Regions from separate parts of the Homo sapiens genome. Here region 1 is linked to region 2. Evidence: promoter capture Hi-C in 16 types of primary human blood cells and fetal thymus (Javierre and others, 2016). All regions are on one chromosome and are shown on one strand. The core of a region is centred on a gene start or on the middle of the fragment in contact, and the rest is flanking DNA. Distances in the headings are between cores, read along the strand shown. Region 1 overlaps KIR3DL2 (killer cell immunoglobulin like receptor, three Ig domains and long cytoplasmic tail 2). Region 2 holds the start of KIR3DL3 (killer cell immunoglobulin like receptor, three Ig domains and long cytoplasmic tail 3).

Region 1 (3,653 bases), core at 844-3,343, 140 kb after region 2:
TTTGCCCATTCAGTATGATACTGGCTGTGGGTTTGTTATAGATGGCTCTTATTATTTTGAGATACGTCCCATCAATGCCTAATTTATTGAGAGTTTTTAGCATGAAGCGTTGTTGAATTTTGTCAAAGGCCTTTTCTGCATCTATTGAGATAGTCGTCCGGTTTTTGTCTTTGGTTCTGTTTATATGATGGATTACATTTATTGATTTGCATATATTGAACCAGCCTTGCATCCCAGAGCCTGGGCAACTTCTAGAGAAAACAGATTTGTTTGCCTCACAGTTCTGCAGGCTGTACTGGAAGCATGGCACCAGCATCTGTTTCCTGTGACGGCCTCAGGCTGCTCCCACTCTGGCAGAAGGGAAGGAGGGTCTGTCTGTGCAGAGACCACAGAGATCACATGGCAAGAGAGGGAGCAAGGGGGAGGGCGAGCGATGGAGCTTCCAAGCTCTTTTTAACAACCAGCCCTCCGGGAACTAATAGAGGGGGAACTTGCTAACCCCATCATGTGGGGCAGCATTAATCTATTCATGATGGATCCACCTCCATGACTCAAACACCTTCCCATAGGCCCAAACTTCCACACTGGGGGTTAAATTTCAATATTTCAGTGTGAGGTTTCAAAGGGTCAAACATCTAAACTAAAGCAGCTGTATCCTCAGCATGTTCTATGGTTTCTATGAGAGCTGTAACTGAGAAAGCAGGAGAAAGCTGGGTCTCCCGCCATCAGGCTGCTTGTCCTAAGGAGATGTTCCATGTGGTTACCTGTCAATCAAGAAATGAGACAATCCATAAAGAGGAACTGCTATGATTAGCTTCTTATTGGATTCCCATCTTCCTCCAGGTATCTGCAGACACCTGCATGTTCTGATTGGGACCTCAGTGGTCATCTTCCTCTTCATCCTCCTCCTCTTCTTTCTCCTTTATCGCTGGTGCTCCAACAAAAAGAGTAAGTCTCACGAAGCAGAGGCCAGAGAGCTCAGGGCCATGTGGGGAAGCAGGATGGGAGCACGCGGGTGTGTGTTCCTCACTGGCAGGATGGTCCCTGGCCCAAGGGAGGAGCCACAGAGGCAGGGCTTTCTAGAGAGAGCACCAGACAACCTGCCCCTGCCTTCAGCTCACAGACCATTGCCTGGTTCTGAACTGTATCCTCACATCCCCTGCAGCTACTGACATCCAGAAGCTTCCATGACAGGCAGAAAGTGGGAGACAGAATCAATGGGATGCCAATTGAGAGCACTTCATGGGATGGGGTCTTGAACTCAGAGAGATAGAATGTCTGAGTCTGGATGTTGGCAGCTGAAGAGCCTCAGGCACCTACAGCCTCCCCCTGTGGGTTGGTGTCTGCCCATGAAATGAGGACCCAGAAGGGCCCTCCAAGCGGTTTTGATGACTTCCGTCTCCTACAGATGCTGCTGTAATGGACCAAGAGCCTGCGGGGGACAGAACAGTGAATAGGCAGGTAGGTCCTCCTCGGCCCAGCCTCACGGATACAGTCTTATCCCTAATAGTCCTGAAAAATGTGAGCACCCTCCCTCACTCAGCATTTCCCTCTCTCCAGGACTCTGATGAACAAGACCCTCAGGAGGTGACGTACGCACAGTTGGATCACTGCGTTTTCATACAGAGAAAAATCAGTCGCCCTTCTCAGAGGCCCAAGACACCCCTAACAGATACCAGCGTGTACACGGAACTTCCAAATGCTGAGCCCAGATCCAAAGTTGTCTCCTGCCCACGAGCACCACAGTCAGGTCTTGAGGGGGTTTTCTAGGGAGACAACAGCCCTGTCTCAAAACCAGGTTGCCAGATCCAATGAACCAGCAGCTGGAATCTGAAGGCATCAGTCTGCATCTTAGGGGATCGCTCTTCCTCACACCACGAATCTGAACATGCCTCTCTCTTGCTTACAAATGCCTAAGGTCGCCACTGCCTGCTGCAGAGAAAACACACTCCTTTGCTTAGCCCACAAGTATCTATTTCACTTGACCCCTGCCCACCTCTCCAACCTAACTGGCTTACTTCCTAGTCCTACTTGAGGCTGCAATCACACTGAGGAACTCACAATTCCAAACATACAAGAGGCTCCCTCTTAACACGGCACTTACACACTTGCTGTTCCACCTTCCCTCATGCTGTTCCACCTCCCCTCAGACTATCTTTCAGCCTTCTGTCATCAGTAAAATTTATAAATTTTTTTTATAACTTCAGTGTAGCTCTCTCCTCTTCAAATAAACATGTCTGCCCTCATGGTTTCGATAATGTGACTCTTTATTCGCCAAAAGTTTCCAGTGTTATCATTACTATGTCCATATAACCTGATATGTTCTCTACTGGGTTCTCAGCCCTGGACTCTGAGCTTCTGGAAGCAGGGTGGAGCCTCATTTGTCTCTGGGACTCCAATTTCCATCCAAAGATGCAGCACATAGGAGGTTCCAAGGATCGTGAATCACATGAACAAGTGATATTCTTACTCTCTGCAGACCTGGAAAGCTGGCAGAGTCATTCCAAGATGAAACATTTGTAGAGTCATAGGCCTTGTTAGTCTCATCTCCACAGGGACACATGTCAACACATCATCTTTCATACTATAAATATACAGTCGCTCCTCCATATCTGTGGGGTTTACAGGTGTTTATTGAACCAAATATAAATCAAAAATATTCAGAGAAAAAATCCACAAAGTTCCAAAAAGCAAAAATACTATATTGTGTGGACACAAGTGAGGTGGTGTGTAGGCTGTATCAGGAATTATAAGTAATCTAGAGATGATTTCATGTATACAGGAGGATGTGCATGGGTTATATGCAAACGCTGTGCCATTTCATGCAACAGGCTTGAGCATCTGCAGATTTTGGTGTCTGGTAGGGAGGGGGGTTTCCTGGAACCAATCACCCATGAATAGTGAAGGACAACTGTATATAATTTTCATTCATCAATTTTATAAATAAATCATCAAAATGTATGATAATAAGATAAAAAATTAGCAGTGTTTTTATGGTGTGAAAATAAGCTTAGATTTATTTTTTCCTGCTTGTAACCCTCTGGTCCAATGTTATTTACTGAGAAGACATTCTATTCCACCTTAATCCGCATGGCAGCCTCTGTCAACTATAAAAGGACTGTGTGTACACAGATGTATTTTACACACTCTTTTCTGCTCAGTGGCTCTCTGTGTCCACTCTCATGAGGATGCTGCACTTTATGTGGCCTTATAGAACCCCTTAAAATTTGGCAGCCTGAATCCTCTAATTTCTCCTTCCTCTTTAAGATTGCCATTATTATTATTATTGGCTATTTGCTTTTCCATGTAAATTTGTAATCATTTTTCTCATTTCCACCAAAAACAATGCTTGTAATTTTGTTGTGACTCCCTTACATCTACAGGTAAGTTCTGTCCTATAGAAACATAATGCAAACCACATGCATTCTTTCAAACTTGCTAGTATCCAAATTAAAAAGCTAACAAGAAACAGATAAAATTAATTTAAGTTAACCCAATGGACCCAAAATATTATTAACCCAACAGACCCAAAATATTAACCTAATAGATCCAAAATATTATTTTATTATACAAGTAGACTCAAAATATTATCATTTCAACATGTAATCATGTGTCATCTTGGAAAACATCAGATCCCTGTCTAGGTGGGCAAA
Region 2 (3,310 bases), core at 304-2,803:
AAACACACATAGCAATAAACAATGAGTGGAAGAAAAACATTTCAAAGAAAGGTGGAAAATATTTTGTATCAATTAAAAATGAAAACACATCTCGGCAAATGACTGGGGATACAGATAGAACAGTGTTAAAGGAAAATAAGCCTCAAATGTCTGTGTTAGAAAAGAAGGAAGAGCTGAGTAAATAGGTAACTTTCGCTTGCAGAAATACTACACATCAGCAAATTAATTCCAAAGTAACGTCGAGGAAAAACATAAAATGGCAAGCAAATATATACGTGCATATGTACGTATATTCATAAATGACAAACAGGACAGAAAAATCAGTGACATCAATTTTGTTCCTTAGAAGAAACAGGAAAATTGACCCCAAAAAACTTTCCAGGCCACATTTGGTCATGATGGAAATATTTTGGCACTTCCTGGTTAAGCTCAACACCAACTTGCACCCAAAACCAATAATTTCATTCCTAGGTAAATATGTCTAATTAATTCAGCATATGTATGCAAGGGATCACACAGAAACACGATTATCAAGGCCCGAGTTATAAAAGAGAAAATCCGGAAACAACACAAATGTCCATGATAAAAAGAGTGGATAATTACATGTTGATAAAGTTATGTATGGACTATTAAACTGCAATCCAAAAGAATAAAATAGAACTATAAAATTCAATATGTATATGGTGTCATAGAAACACAAATGTGAGAAAAAGAAAGAAAAATACAAAATTTATATTTTTTAAAATTTGAAACAACTATATATGTGAGTGCTTAGGGTGTGTGTGTGTGTGTGTGTGTATAACCATATGTATATAAACGCACACATACGCACACATATAGAATGTCCCGGCCAGGCATGGTGGCTCACACCTGTAATCTCAGCACTTTGGGAGGCTGAAGTAGACAGATCACTTGAGGTTAGGAGTTCAAGACCAGCCTGGCCAACATGGAGAAACCTCCTCTCTACTAAAAGTACAAAAATTAGGTGGGCGTGATGGTGGGTGCCTGTAAATCCAGCTACTTAGGAGGCTGAGGCACGAGAATTGCGTGAACCTGGGAGGTGGAGGCTGCAATGAGCCGAGGTCTCACCACTGCATTCCAAACTGGGTGACGAAGTGAGATTGCGTCTCAAAAAAAAAAAAAGTTCTAAAAGTTGTGACTTGGGTGTGGCAGATTGTGACATACTGCCAGCTGCTAGAAATGCTGGGGCAGGAGGATTGCTTGAACTCTGAAGTCAAAGAACAGCCTGGGGAAAATAGCACATGAAGAAGAGTTTGAATCTCAGATAAAAACAACAAAAATACATCAAAAGTCTTTAATGTAAGCCAAGCATTCAGTCATCTCCTGTATGAGAGATTGGATCTGAGACGTGTTTTGAGTTGGTTATAGTGAAGGATGCAAGGTGTCAATTCTAGTTGGAACAATTTCCAGGAAGCCATGTTCCGCTCTTGACCAAACAGCCACTGGGCCTCATGCAAGGTAGAAATAGCCTGCATACGTCATCCTCCCATGATGTGGTCAGCATGTAAACTGCATGAGCCCCTCACAACATCCTGTGTGCTGCTGAACTGAGCTGGGGCGCAGCCGCCTGTCTGCACCGGCAGCACCATGTCGCTCATGGTCGTCAGCATGGCGTGTGTTGGTGAGTCCTGGAAGGGAATCGAGGGAGGGAGCGCTGGGGTGGAGATCTGGGCCTGGAGTGGAGATCTGGGCCTGGAGTGGAGATATGGGCCTGGAGTGGAGATATAGGCCTGGAGTGGAGATATGGGCCTGGGGTGGAGATATGGGCCTGGAGTGGAGATATGGGCCTGGAACTGTAGATATGGGCCTGAAGTAGAGATATGGGCCTGGAGTAGAGATATGGGCCTGGAACTGTAGATATGGGCCTGGAGTGGAGATATTGGCTTGGAGTGCAGATATGGACCTGGAATTGAGATACGGGCCTGGAGGTGGAGATATGGGCCTAGAGTGGAGATATGGGCCTGGAGGTGGAGATATGGGCCTGGAACTGTAGATATGGGCCTGGAGTAGAGATACGGGCCTGGAGTGGAGATGTTGGCTTGGAGTGCAGATATGGGCCTGGAATGGAGACACGGGCCTGGAGGTGGAGATACAGGCCTGGAGGTGGAGATATGGGCCTGGAGTGTAGATATGGGCCTGGAGTAGAGATATAGGACGGAGGTGGAGATATAGGCCTGGAGTGGAGATATGGGCCTGGAGTAGAGATATAGGACGGAGGTGGAGATATAGGCCTGGAGTGGAGATATGGGCCTAGAGGTGGAGATATGGGCCTGGAGTGGAGATATGGGCCTGGAGGTGATGTACAGATGGATCATCCATCATGATCTTTCTTTCCAGGGTTCTTCTTGCTGGAGGGGCCCTGGCCACATGTGGGTGAGTCCTTCCCCCAAACCTTAGGTTGTCATCTCCCCACATAAGATGATGCTCCTGAAACGGGAGGCAGGCGACACAGGGGGTTGACTGATGGGCTGACCATGGGAAGCCATGTGGGAATCTCTCATGAACTAGGAAAAGGAAGCCAGGGGAAGCTTCGCCACAGTTCTGTCCTAGCCCTCCCCGGCCTTTCTTTCCCTTGGCTGAGTCTGTGGGGACCCAGGGGGAGACTGAAGTGCTCAAAGGAGTGGTGTGCAGGGAGGAAGTGGTGTCACCGGCAGAGGAAGGGAGAGAAGCAGTGCAAGGAACAACAGGCCTCTGAGGACAAGAGCATAACTCACACCCTCCAGCGTTTCCATGACGGTAGGGGCTGCAATGTGGCTGCTGTCATTCTACCTAAGAGGTGGGGGAACCACAGTCATGACCCTGACATTCCAGATCTTCTAATAGGGGCTCAGTTGTTTATTATGGTTCATGCATTAGCTGATCATGCCCTCCATCCTGTGTCTACCTTGTGTTCTTTTATGTAAGTAATTTTGCAGTGTTAAAATCTAGTAAGAGTCGCTTCTTCAGCACCTGCTCAAAGTTCTCAGCTGACACTTGCTGTAGGGAGACGCCATGTCTATGCGGGATGGGTCCTTCCTGTAGCCCTGGGCACCCAGGTGTGGTAGGAGCCTTAGAAACGTGGAAATGGGAGAATCTTCTGAGCACAGGGAGGGAGGGGCGGCTCCACATCCTCCTCTCTAAGGTGGTGCCTCCTTCTCCCCCAGGTGGTCAGGACAAGCCCTTCCTCTCTGCCTGGCCCGGCACTGTGGTGTCTGAAGGACAACATGTGACTCTTCAGTGTCGCTCTCGTCTTGGGTTTAATGAATTCAGTCTGTCCAAAGAAGACGGGATGCCTGTCCCTGAGCTCTAC

The links. The method cuts DNA at HindIII sites, captures the fragments that hold promoters and counts their contacts. A CHiCAGO score of 5 or more calls a contact.
Region 1: a contact is called between a fragment that was not itself captured here and the fragment with the promoter of KIR3DL3 in region 2, in 1 of 17 cell types (monocytes). The highest score is 5.0, in monocytes.

What each region holds. Positions count from the first base shown.
Region 1 is chr19:54,864,962-54,868,614 of GRCh38, forward strand. KIR3DL2 (killer cell immunoglobulin like receptor, three Ig domains and long cytoplasmic tail 2) reads left to right here. Exons shown (of 9, transcript NM_006737.4): 7 at 844-948; 8 at 1,409-1,461; 9 at 1,561-2,246. The coding sequence ends at 1,770. Among named protein-coding and RNA genes, the nearest start is that of FCAR, 7.4 kb to the right of the region's middle. The HindIII fragment of the contact is 1,827 bases long and covers 1,181-3,007 here.
Region 2 is chr19:54,722,889-54,726,198 of GRCh38, forward strand. It overlaps KIR3DL3 (killer cell immunoglobulin like receptor, three Ig domains and long cytoplasmic tail 3), which reads left to right and starts at 1,554. Exons shown (of 8, transcript NM_153443.5): 1 at 1,554-1,642; 2 at 2,359-2,394; 3 at 3,165-3,310. The coding sequence starts at 1,609. The HindIII fragment of the contact is 6,556 bases long and covers 1-2,547 here.